2 separate regions of the Homo sapiens genome follow, and region 1 is linked to region 2. Evidence: promoter capture Hi-C in 16 types of primary human blood cells and fetal thymus (Javierre and others, 2016). All regions are on one chromosome and are shown on one strand. Each heading gives the region's core, a stretch centred on a gene start or on the middle of the fragment in contact. The rest is flanking DNA. Distances are from core to core; before and after follow the strand shown. Region 1 holds the start of NAA30 (N-alpha-acetyltransferase 30, NatC catalytic subunit). Region 2 holds the start of SEL1L (SEL1L adaptor subunit of SYVN1 ubiquitin ligase).

Evidence for each region. Contacts are between HindIII fragments. The CHiCAGO score rates a contact against its expected background, and 5 or more counts as called.
Region 1: the fragment with the promoter of NAA30 here is called in contact with the fragment with the promoter of SEL1L in region 2 in 1 of 17 cell types (total CD8 T cells); the score reaches 5.6 in total CD8 T cells.

Annotation. Positions count from the first base shown.
Region 1 is chr14:57,386,771-57,392,848 of GRCh38, forward strand. NAA30 (N-alpha-acetyltransferase 30, NatC catalytic subunit) reads left to right here and starts at 3,816. Exons shown (of 5, transcript NM_001011713.3): 1 at 3,816-3,935; 2 at 4,187-4,958. The coding sequence starts at 4,188. RefSeq lists an enhancer at 3,800-4,795 and silencers at 3,924-4,063, 4,194-4,343. The HindIII fragment of the contact is 6,905 bases long and covers 1,366-6,078 here.
Region 2 is chr14:81,530,192-81,536,672 of GRCh38, forward strand. It overlaps SEL1L (SEL1L adaptor subunit of SYVN1 ubiquitin ligase), which reads right to left and starts at 3,662. Exons shown (of 21, transcript NM_005065.6): 1 at 3,484-3,662. The coding sequence starts at 3,553. RefSeq lists an enhancer at 3,450-3,949 and a silencer at 3,666-3,785. The HindIII fragment of the contact is 11,079 bases long and covers 172-6,481 here.

The DNA of each region.
Region 1 (6,078 bases), core at 2,566-5,065, about 24 Mb before region 2:
TCTAATATGTAGGAATATATGATTCTCTCCAACATGTCTCACCAGCCCAGGTGTATCTGTGAGAATCACCCTGACCATGTCTTCAGGCAGGTCATGAAGAGTTAGTGTGAGGTTGAAAATAATGGAAATGGGGACCATTTGACCACAACCCTCTCTGGTTCTTCATAGTCCTCTGAGGCCTCAGTTCTACAAACAAAATTGATGCCTACCTACAATTGGTACTGCCATCCACTACTGGCAAGGGGAAAGAAGTTTAAAGAACAGACTGTCATTCCCCAAATTCGAAGGGAAGAATCAAATTGTTAGTCTTTTACCTGGGCATCTCAGAGTGTTCTAAGATTACAGGTAATACAACAATATACTAATATTCATCCTTTGGTTAAGTTCTTCAGCTCTCAAATTTGATGTATGTTCTTTCTTTCATTCAAGATGAAACAAAGTTAAGGACATTCATTTTCAGGGCTTTATGTATAATAGATAGGATTAGTGGGATTAAGAACCACATGACATGTAAAATAAAACTACACAAATATTTAAATTATTTAGTATGTGTGCCTATGGCACATAACAATGTCATCCTGCTGTGTCAAGGGAACTTAAAGCATCTTTCCATTATTCATTCCCACAGTTACCTTTCAGGTAGGTACACAGCTAGGTTTTCTCTCTAAACCTAGCCAATAAGAGAAAAATGCCTCACTGTTAGAAAGAATTAAATAGAAATTTTTCTCCTTCCAAGCTGATTTCAATAAATTGCTTCAGGATGTTGTTTTAAAATTGCTATTGGTTATTTTAATTGATTTAATGAGAAGCTTTTTTTTCTTCTAAAAAATTAAGGCATGTTCTCTTCTTCCTCAAAAGAGAACAACAATAGTAAAAAAAAAAAAAAAAGAAAAAAAAAGAAAAGAAAAAATGGCTGTTGCTTCATAGGATATTACAAAACAATGAAAATATCAACTAACCACACAGAAGAGTATCACTGCTACACTCACCTTGCTCTGAGCCCATTCTTTCCTATGAAGTATTGCTCATGGAGGTAGTTGTTTTTTCAGAGTCTCATAATAGTAAATATGTCTAAAGCATTAGAGTGAACTAATCCTATTTCTATGCCTAAAATAGTGCTATCATCCTATCAAGTAAACATGAATCAAATAGAAAAGATTTCATAAGTTATAAAGGCAATTTTTTTTAGAGATGTCATCTGATTTAGAAGGCCAACATTGTAATTTTAATACTGGGATATAAAGAAAAATCACTGGGGCTGAGACATTAGAATTACCCCACTAGTTATTGAGGAGGTCAGAATTTACTTTGTCATTATAAGCATTCTAGGTTACTGAATGAGAGACTGGTGTACTTCAGTCAAAAAGCTTAACAATTTCCCTTTTATGTGTTTGATATGTGAATACAAAGTGACTAACATTTACTCCCTGGCCTCAAGAAGGTCCTTACAACTCTTGACTTTCTGAAAACCACTTTGAGACAACATCTGGTCAGCTCCTCAGTGTGACAGAGCTCAATGCCAAGTTGCAACACAGAAAGAACAGGAAGGCCTGCTGCCATTCATTCACTACAGTGAAGGTACATGCTTTTTAGGAAGGGCTTACATTTAAAAGTAAATTACTGAGAGGTATTTTTCTAAGTAAAATTCACCCTTAAACATCTCTTATGGAATTATCTGGTGCCTCTTGGGCCAGTTTTTCCACCATGATTTGAACAGATCATTGTTTCATTGGCTGACTACCCAGGTTACACTTAGAAACTTTGAAAAACATGTATCTTTAAACAATGTATGCACATTTGGAAACATGGTTTTGTTTTGTGCTTTTTAAAAGACAGAAAAGGGATCACGCTGTACTTATACATCTCATTTATATCCCCCACACATCAAGGTGTTTAGGAGGTTTTCAATGTATCTGTAGCAAGTTATACATTCTGAAAATGGCCACAGCAATATTTCTGGTCCCATATGCTCTTTGAGAACCTTGCCTCTCTCCACCAAGAGTAGAGTCTATTTCCCCTCCTGTCAAAACTGGATATAATTTTGTGTCTGCCTAGATACAATGCAGCAGAACTGACACTACATAACTTGTTTTTTGTTTCTTTTTGATGAGAGGGAGTCTCCCTGTGTTGCCCAGGCTGGAGTGCAGTGGCGCAATCTCGGCTTACTGCAACCTCCGCCTCCCGGGTTCAAGTGATTCTCCTCAGCCTCCTGAGTAGCTGGGACTACAGGCATGAGCTACCACGCCCGGCTAATTTTTGTATTTTTCGGCAGAGATGAGGTTTCACTGTGTTGGCCAGGCTGGTCTCGAACTCCTGGCCTCAAGAGATCCTCCCGCCTGGGCCTCCCAAAATGCCAGGATTACAGGCGTGAGGCACCGCACCTGGCTAGAGACTACATGACTTCTAAGGCTAGGTTATAATGGGTAATATGCTTCTGATTGACTTTCTCGCACGATACTTGCCGTGGAACCCAGCCACCAGGCTGTGACAAAGCCCAAACCAATCAATGCTAAAAGACCACCGGGAGAGGTCTACATGGACTAGAACTGAGGCCTCCAGCCTTTATCCTGCATCAACCATCAGCGGTGAAAGTGAAGTTTTCAAATAATTCTACTCCTCAGCCTTAGAGTCTTCCAACTGAAGCTCTACGCATAATGGAGTAGAGAAAAGCCATCCCAGTTGTGCTCTGTCTGGATTTCAGAGGCACAGAATCTGCGAGCATAATAAATACTTTATACATAGAGTTTAGATTACGGCAAAAAGTTGCAAACGTGTTCCGTCATAGAATTATATATTGAAAACGTCCATCTGCGGCACACCAGACCAGCTCTATAAATCAGGTTTTTAACAAAACCGAATTTGTTCAGTGAGCGGGTGAGTTACACTACCTGTCTCAGCTCAGACCTGCCGGGAGTCAATTGTGGACTAGAGCAGAAGGCGCCCAGCCACAAGCTCAAGTTCTATCCCCTTTGCACTCGATAGGCAGATCCCCTGGGAGGATCAGGCCACCTGTTTACCAGTGCTTCCTAACCTATTTGTGTCACAAGTTTAGGAGTGTGCTTCTTAGCCCTGGTCACTCTCTTTCACCACCTCTCTCTAACCCTTCCCCAGGTGTGCTAGCAATTGCCCAACACCTGTCAGTCACTTTTGCCTCCAATTTTACTGGGTGCGAGGAGCAGAGTAAGGAGGGAGAGGAAGAGGGCTGACTCCCTTGCCTCAAAGTGGCAAGGGCCAGCTGAACTTAATTCACACTGCAAACCACCACGTTTCGACAGCCATCCCCATATTTTCACAGCTCAAATCTTCCTTTCTTTTTCGGTCGGCTTCTCTGATTTGCTCCATTTTTAATCGCTCCTCCCCCATCCTCCTTGCCCCTGGTCAGGGCAAACATTAAACGCTGTGCAGCTTTAAAAGGGCATTTTTAGGTGACTTGTAAACGGCTTGTTCCACAGGCCCCGAATTGGCGAGATTCGCTACAGCTCGGAGTGCGCGGTAGACTTTAAGCAGGGAGCGCCTGCCCGGTCCATCCCTCCCCGGCCCCGCGTGGCAAGCACCGCAGGTTGAGGCGCCCCCAAACCGAGGAAGAGGGTTTGGGAGCCTGTGACTCCAAAGCCCTCTGCAACTTCCCGGCCCCACAGCCCCACCCACTAGCACGCGGCCTTCCCCGCAGCCCGCAGGAGACACCTTTGTCCCCGCCCCTCCACAGGTCACCTCCCTCCACGCCCCTCTCTCTTGGCCCGGGCAGCCGGCAGGCAGGGAAGTGTCGTAAAGCCAGGCCCAGGAAACTTTACCCGGCCTAACAGCTGAGGCGCTTTACGGCGACGGCGGCTGAGTGAGAACCTTGGCGGCTGTGGAGGCTGCCGCGGCTGCGAAGGAGGCGGCGGCGGTGGCGGAGGAAGAGGAGTGGCGGCAGCGGCGGCGGGGACCCGTGCGGGGTGAGCCGTGAGGAGGGGCCGCGAGTGACAGGGCTGGCGGGTGGGCCCGGGCGGACGGGGACGGTGGCCGGCTGAGCAGCTGGGCGGCGCTGAAGAGCGGGGGGGTGGCGGGGAATTGGGGGGCAGCTCCGTGAGGGACGGTTTCTGCCTTTGTTCCCCCCACCTCGGCCGCCCCCCATCCGTCGCCCCCTGTTCTCCGCGCTCCTCGGCCGGGTTTCATGGCCTCCCCTCTCGGTCTGTGTCGCTTCTAGGATGGCGGAGGTACCGCCTGGGCCTAGCAGCCTCCTCCCACCACCAGCACCTCCGGCCCCGGCGGCGGTCGAGCCCCGCTGTCCCTTCCCGGCGGGGGCCGCCCTCGCCTGCTGCAGCGAGGACGAGGAGGACGACGAAGAGCACGAAGGCGGCGGCAGCAGGAGCCCGGCGGGCGGAGAGTCGGCGACGGTGGCGGCCAAGGGGCATCCGTGCCTCCGCTGCCCTCAGCCGCCGCAGGAGCAGCAGCAGCTCAACGGATTGATTAGCCCCGAACTGCGGCACCTCCGGGCGGCCGCCTCCCTCAAGAGCAAGGTCCTGAGCGTAGCAGAGGTGGCCGCGACCACAGCCACCCCTGACGGAGGCCCCAGAGCGACTGCAACAAAAGGAGCCGGGGTACACTCGGGCGAGAGGCCCCCTCACTCCCTCTCTAGTAATGCAAGAACTGCGGTCCCCAGCCCGGTGGAGGCAGCGGCGGCGAGCGATCCCGCGGCGGCCCGCAATGGACTGGCCGAGGGCACCGAGCAGGAGGAGGAGGAGGAAGACGAGCAGGTGCGGCTGCTGTCTTCGTCCCTGACCGCCGACTGCAGCTTAAGAAGCCCTTCGGGCAGGGAGGTTGAGCCTGGGGAGGATCGGACGATACGATATGTCCGATATGAATCCGAGCTACAAATGCCCGATATCATGAGACTGATCACCAAAGATCTGTCCGAACCCTACTCCATTTATACCTATAGATATTTTATCCACAACTGGCCACAGCTGTGCTTCTTGGTAAGTGGATAGAATAAAAAGAGGGTGAACCCAGCAGTGATCGAGACTGTGCGGGGCAGGGAGTGAGGGCCCAGAATGTGGCAGTGGATATCTCCTGCTGCGTATCATAGTACGTTATATGATGTCAAGTGCTGTACACATTCCTAGTTATTTAATGAAATTGTTTTGAAGGTAAGACTTCATGATTCGGGTTAACGTGATACTAGTGTAACTGCAGCAAGCCTGTATGGTGGCGTGTTTCACTGGGGTGGGGGTCTTGTGTCTTGTTTACATTAGATTATAATCGTGTTTAACCGTCTTTAATTACCCGCCCGCATCCTCAAACACTTTACAGTCATTTAATTTGAACATGGTTCTGTTCAGATACAGGCCTTATTAGTCTCTCGATTACAACCATAATCAGGGAAGAGTGTATGCATAAACATGTTGTGGTGAACATGGATGTCAGCAAACTTGGTGTGGTCATATTGGAGAATTAAATCTTACAAGCATTTTCGGTAATTATGGAGATGTTTCTCTTTACTTCAACTGGACAATTAACAGTTGTAGCCAGCCTGCTTTCTGGTACTCCATTCCAGAAAGCGCTACTAACACTTCTGGTGGCTGAAAGACTCCTGAAACTTGAACAAAATACCCTTTTGTGGAATGTAGAAAACTTGTGTGAAATTGTTACCGATCTGATTTTTTTTTTTTTAATTTAAGAAACTGGTTGTAGATGTGGCCAAACACTAGTAACACTGGCTTGTGTAGAGTATAATTGACAATAATATTACACGTAAGTGAAAGACTTTTGGACGGTTTTTAAAAATTAACATAGTATTGGCAGTACCAGTAATTTCTTCACAATAATATTGACCCATTTCAGTCTGTATGAACCCTTTAACTTAAACGTTGACTGCAGGTGTATGCTTTGTATCATGTGCTCACAAGCATATTGTTTCTGTTGAATTTTACTACAGAAAGATGACATCCTTTTAAGGAATATTTTTTAATATGTGAAGGGAAAAGCCACCATTACTTAATGTTTTAGCATTGGCTTAGTTTCACTTGGTAATTCCCTGCAAGATATTTTGACAATACTTATCTTTTTGATTCTCTAGCTTGGTGATAATTTGAAAAT
Region 2 (6,481 bases), core at 2,412-4,911:
AAATAGTTTGGTGAAAACAGACCAGATATCCTGTTCTCTGCTTTAGCTCTAAATTGGTACAGATCCTAAGATACTCTCGATTCTAAATTTCTTCAATTCTGAGACCTGGAGAGCTAGGTCTGGAACCTGGCTTCATCACATGTTAATTCTGACACATGGTTCAGTAACAAAAGCTTGCTCAGCCTCTGTTTCTCAATCTGTCAAAAGGGGTAACACCTCTGTCCCGCTGACTCACAATATTTTAAGGAACGACCAAAACAGTGAAATTAAACATCCTCTGCTGTCTGAAAACTACTCTCTGAATTTATAATTATTACCTGAAATACCTGGCAGTGGACCTAACTAAAATGACTAACACTGCTTGGCACAAAGAAAAAAAAAGGTTAAGCCATTTGCCTCTTCTGCCAAAAATAAGAAAGCATGCATTTGTGAGAAAAATTATAACCTTTTCACTATTATCCTGAGAAAATGAAGAAATATCTTTTTAGTGTCCTCCTTTAAATTTATTAATAGAAAAGAGAAAATGTTTCTAATATTAGCCATGTGTCAATGACGAGGATATGTTCTGAAAAGTGTATCACTGGGCGATTTCCTTTTTGTATACTTAAACCTAAATGGGATAGCCTTCTACATACCTGGGCTACATAGTGTAGCCTGTTGTTCCTAAGCTACAAATCTGTACAGCATGTGACTATACAGACTACTGTAGGCAACTGTAACATAACAGTAAGTATTTGTGTACATAAACATAGCTAAACATAGAAAAGCTACAGTGAAAATATGGTGTAAAAGATTACAAAACATATACCTGTCTAGGGCACTTACCATAAATGGAACTTGCAGGATTAAGAGTTGCTGTGGGTGAGTGAGTGAGTGAATGTGAAGCCTAGGATGTTACTATACACTATTGTAAACACTGTACACTTAAACTACACTAAATTTATTTTTTAAAAAGTGTGCTACCATGTTCCAATGGCTACAATGTCACTAGGTGACAGGAATTTTTCAGCTCCATTATATTCTTACAGGGCCACCATCTTACATGGGGTTCATTGTTGACCAAAATGTCATTATGTAGCATGTGACTATATCATATTTTTACATGCTTCTAAAACATGATACTAGCTAACAGCTATCAACAGCAATAGAATCAAGATTCTCTTTGTTGGCTGACCATACTCCACCTGGAGAGATGCGACCTGCCCTGGGTAACCACTAATGTTCAAACACAAAATTATAACCAAAAACTTGATTTTAATACTGGAGTAAAACTTTAAACTTTGAGGCCGAAACCCTGTGAATGAAAATCACAATTGAAAATCCATAGCTTAATTTACACAACTTTATTTAACACAGGGTTGTTTTTTTTTCTTTTTTTTTGAGACAGGGTCTCGCTCTATTGTCCAGGCTGGAGTGCAGTGGCATAATCACAGCTCAGTGCAGCCTCAACCTCCTGGGGCTCACTCCATCCTGCCACCTCAGCCTCCCGAGTAGCTGGAACTACACGTGTGCACCATCACACCTGGAGTTACGTAGAGATGGGGTTTCGCCATGTTGCCCAGGTTGGTCTTGAACTCCTGGGCTCAAGTGATCCTTCCACTTCAGCCTCCCAAAGTGCTGGGATTACAGGTATGAGCTGGGCCCGCACAGGTGTTTTATGATATATGAACTTCATGTGAGCACAGCACTGCCTTTATTACCTTTTAGCATGCACATCTACATTGTTTTAGTTCTGGCTAAGGCTTCTGCCTTTACCATTGAAATGTTGTGGCACAGCTTTAACTATGATGGAAATCAGAGCAGACATTTCTTGAATACAGTCCTCTACCTACATCAATACAACCCAAGGATTTAATATATCAGTGTTAAGTCTTTTATTACAACATCCTGAAAGCCCCAACTGTTGATCTTCAAATATCTTTTCCACTGGCATGGAGCTCTAAGTATATAAAATGCAGTCAAAGACAGACAGCACAATTCCTATGCTTTAATTTTCTTTAAACTCTGCCAATTAAATTCAGAGGGATACACACCGTGCTCTTTCATTACTGTAGTTCTCTTTAGTGTGAAGAATCCCTCATGGAGATTGTTAATCTATGTATACCTGAGCTGTTCCAGACCTAAAACCCAATGTTTAACAAACCCATAAGAGGAATTCTGATGCAGGAGGTCCATGGTCCAGCAGGTACTCTACTCATTAAGCTCAACAGCTTCATTTCATGCTTTTTGATCAAATATTAAATAACTGCTAAAAGTGCTTCGAGAGTTAAGTATAGTCTAAAGATCTGGTCATTAACTCAAACCATCACTACTACTGGAGGGAGGGGAGTGGACCTGAAAGAATGATGTTGGCAGTAAAGTAATTAGCATAGGGTTGGTGCTTTTGAAATGGTATCTCAAACCACATCATGGATAGAATTTAGGTTTAAGCCTCTTATTTTAGAAGCAGAATGACGTTATGGCATTGATTTACAACTAGGACAGGTAATTTGGGGATTCAGATAACCATCTGGGAAATTTTCTGTTAAAAAAAAGCTGACATTTATTAAAAAAAGAAAAAGCTGACATTTATACTCCGTGTTGTCCCCCCAAAACGTCAAGCCACAGAACACCTGTCCTGTTAACTGAAACTGATTAAAATTCCAAAGTTTTACTGTACTAATTTTTATTTATCAACACTTAGAAACACGAAGTTTTCATGAACACTCTCAAAATGGAAATTTTCAAATGTAGGCAGATTAAAACATTAAAAAAGGGGGAAAAAAGCAGAACCAGAATAAACATTAGCTAACTGGAAAATCAATTCAAAAGCACACAAATTTCTGTATCTATATAAAACGCATCTTATAAGAACCAAGATTTTCCCAAACATCATAAAATGACTGTCAACAAACATGGGGCAACTCAGAAACACTGTGACAGGTCACCGCTTTCTCAGGAAGGTTTCAAAAAAGTAAAAAGTGGCTACGATGAGATCAAAAGTCTTCGTTTTTAAACAGACAGACCAGGGACCATCTCAGGTGTTAAGCAAACTACTGTCAACATCCTGGTCTGGATGGATCCTCCTCTGCCCCAAAGTGACAGCTCCAGGTTTGTCAATTATTTAACTTACAATTCCCAAGCCCAGAGTTCTAGACCAGACCCTTCCTCTACCCCAGGGTCGAGGAAGCTCCACTCGGGCTCCTGTATCAGGATTCATTCCTTTGGAGTCAATTCCGCGTTCGTGAGAAGAGTCGCGCAAAGTTTGTTACGTGGGAGAGAGGTGTGGGCAGGGTGACCGCCCCTTCTTTTTCCACCCCACTCCACCTTCCTAAATAGCCCCTTTGGCGCAGGCCAAGCAAAGCCAAAGAGCGAGTGACAGCCCAGTGCGAGATGTGCCCAGGGAGAACGGGGTCCCGAGCCTGGAGTCCCCACGGCCCCGCCGGCTGTAGAGGCTGGGGGGCGGAGGCTCTGGGCCTTCAGCCCGAGGGGGCGGATACTGACCCGAGGACGCCGAGGCCAAGCTCAGCAGCACCGCACACAGCAGCAGCGTCAGCCCTATCCGGACCCGCATCCTCCTCTCGGGGCCGGTGCCAACCCCTAGAGCTGTCGCCTTCGCCTCTGCCACCACGGACTCAGCCACCACCGCCGCCTCGCCGCTGCTCTTCCTGCTCTAGTCTCCTTCCTCCGCCCCTTCCCAGGCTTCCCTGACCCAGCGCGCAGCCAATCCCCGCCCGCCGTCGCGGGCTTCTGGTCCAATCACCATGGTCTCCCCGCCCACCCCCATTGCTCCGCCCCGGGGGTCATTCATTGGCCAATCATTGTACGAAGCTCCCACACCAGCTTTCTCGGTTGGACCACGACTCACGGACATGGCCCCAGCTAATTGGTAGCCCCTGGGTTCAACCGGAATCAGCGCGTGAGTCCAAGACTGGGAGAAAGAGGCTCATCCGAGACTACAATTCCCAGAATGCGCTTCATGTGATTAACTCGGGGGGTGCTCTTGGGAAACGTAGTCCATCGTAGGGCAAGATTTACAAGTGCGGGTGACTGTTGAAGTTAGAATTTAACTAACACCTGGGCTAAATATTAACTCAAGGCTATGGATTCACAAGCCTTTTTAAATTGACCCAAAATAAATATTAAGGAATAATTTTAAGAACTTGTAATGTGTTTAGCATCTTTTCCTGTTTTATTTAAAAAATTTAAATTGGGCATAGTGATAAGAGCACTGAGAAAAATGCCACAGCTAGTTGAATTTGAGGTGTTTTTTAAAACTTAGATAAAACAGTACCGTGAAGTACGGAAACCAGGGTGCAACTCAGTACCTGTCCTCCTTTCTCCGACAAAACAAAAGGAAATAAATCCGCTCGGCACAGATTATCTCAATACAGTATTTATTTTCACTAGGTTCACCAGACAATAATCATAAAGAAAATGTGCCAACAGCTTTGAAAAATTATTTTAAACACTTGTCCTCATCCTTCTCCTCTTGTGAGTTGCATTGTTCTCTTCTTTCCTAACTAAAGTCAGGAGACCAGGTTCACGTGTGTGGAGGTAGAGGTGATAGTGATTGCATCGCAGGCACGGAAATACTCTATGTAATAAGCACGAAATCCAGGCATGTTCCAACTGAGTAGCAGAGCAGTGACTTGGTGTGCCTGCCCTTTCTTTTCTCAAACCGTGTCATTCTGCTTTCCCTGTCATCCACCCACAGTCAGCTCTAAGGCCTAGAACCTAGTCCAGCCAAGTGAAGGACTTTGGAAAAGTCTCTGCTGGCCATGTGTCTTAACACTTCTGGGCATTTGTCTTCCTTCCTTTTTTTTTTTGTTTTTTGTTTTTTGTTTTTTGAGATACAGCCTTTTATTTTCAGGAAGATGGTAAAAAACCAACCACTGTTTCTCATTCACATCGGAGGAGATGAAGGAAAGAATTATCTCCTCCAAAAACTTGTCTTTTCAGCTACATCACCATTTCTGTCACTAACAATGTTCCCTCTGAGTTCCTCTGATTATAAATCATAGAGTAAAATCTGGTATATTTTCCTTTCTTTTTCATCTTATTGATAATCAAGTTCTATCAGTTTAAACTATGTAACTTTTAAATTGTTTTATTTTATTATGTACCTCTGTTCTCTTCCTCACTGAAAACTCCCCTAATGGCTTTCATTTTCTCTCACCTGGATGATGCACCTGAGTTCCAGCCATACTCACTGACATCATTCTCCCTTTAACCTGAATCACATATCATGGCCATATTAATTTTCCTTAAACACTGCTTTCATATGCCTATTGAAAATTTTCAATGGCTACACTTTTCACAGAATAAAAAAAATTAGAACTTATTCTACTCACAAAATAGGAACTGTGCTGACAGTTCTACTCTGTTGGGGAAGTACCAGGGAAGAAACTTCTGCCTTCTACAGAAGAGCCAGTGATTATCTGTTTGATTAAAACTGGGGAAAGTTTGCTGCTTAGTTAAGCCCCAACTTCTTTTTTCAGTTTTGTCTTTACTGAGTACGTCTTATATTTAAGGGTTGTTCTGGGTGCTGCTGCATGGACCAAATAGCCACTTCCGTTTTACTTTCCAGATTTCACATTAACACAATCATGTCTTCCTAAGGGTTCCTCTACCCTTTCTCCAACTGCCCTTGCTTCTTTCACTTAGCCATAACTCTGGCATCCTTCCCAATTTCATTCACATTTCGTCTTGGATCACACTTCTCCAACCAGATCTGTCCTCATTAATCTTCATTTCTCTAAGAATCTATTGAACACTCACAATCTTGCCTTATAAACAGATTGTAAACATGCTGAGGCTGGAGATGATCATGTGATTCTGTGTATAGGTATATAGTGCTGGACTTGCCACCACTAGCACTAGTTAATTATTTATTGGTTGATAGATATGTCTTGCCTGTCTGTTGTGAGATTCAAAATGGAGACACAGGATAAAAGCACTTTCTACATTGTAGGATGTTTTACATATAGTATTGTTTCTTATTGATTGCTTGGTTGAGGCGAAGGAGGGAAATTAGTTTTATACCCTTAATGCGAAAAGGGCTTAGAGCTGCTAGAGCTTTTGCCTTTAGCCAGCAATGAGTAGCTGACGTGCTCTGAGAATTCTCATAGGACCTGACTTCCTGGGGAAGTTCCAAGTCTCCAAAGTGGTTCAGAATATGCTGTGGGAAAGTCAGATTTATTTTATCAGCCTGCTATATTACATGAGATTAATTAGAAAAAAGGTTGTGAATTCTCCATGGCCTATCCAGTCTGTGCATACACTCCTCAAGGTTACCTGCCAGCATTCCCAGTTAAGGTTATGTACTTGTACAAAATGTTAATATTATTTATTAATTCTTAGACTGCTTCAATATTTGCTCAGCTGTCTTTATTCCATCTGTCCATATCAGCATTCTGGGTCATTGTCAGAGATTTCCAAGTTGCAGAAAACCTGTTTGCTCTGCATTGCAGCACAGCATAGCACTCAACAGAGGTAGGTA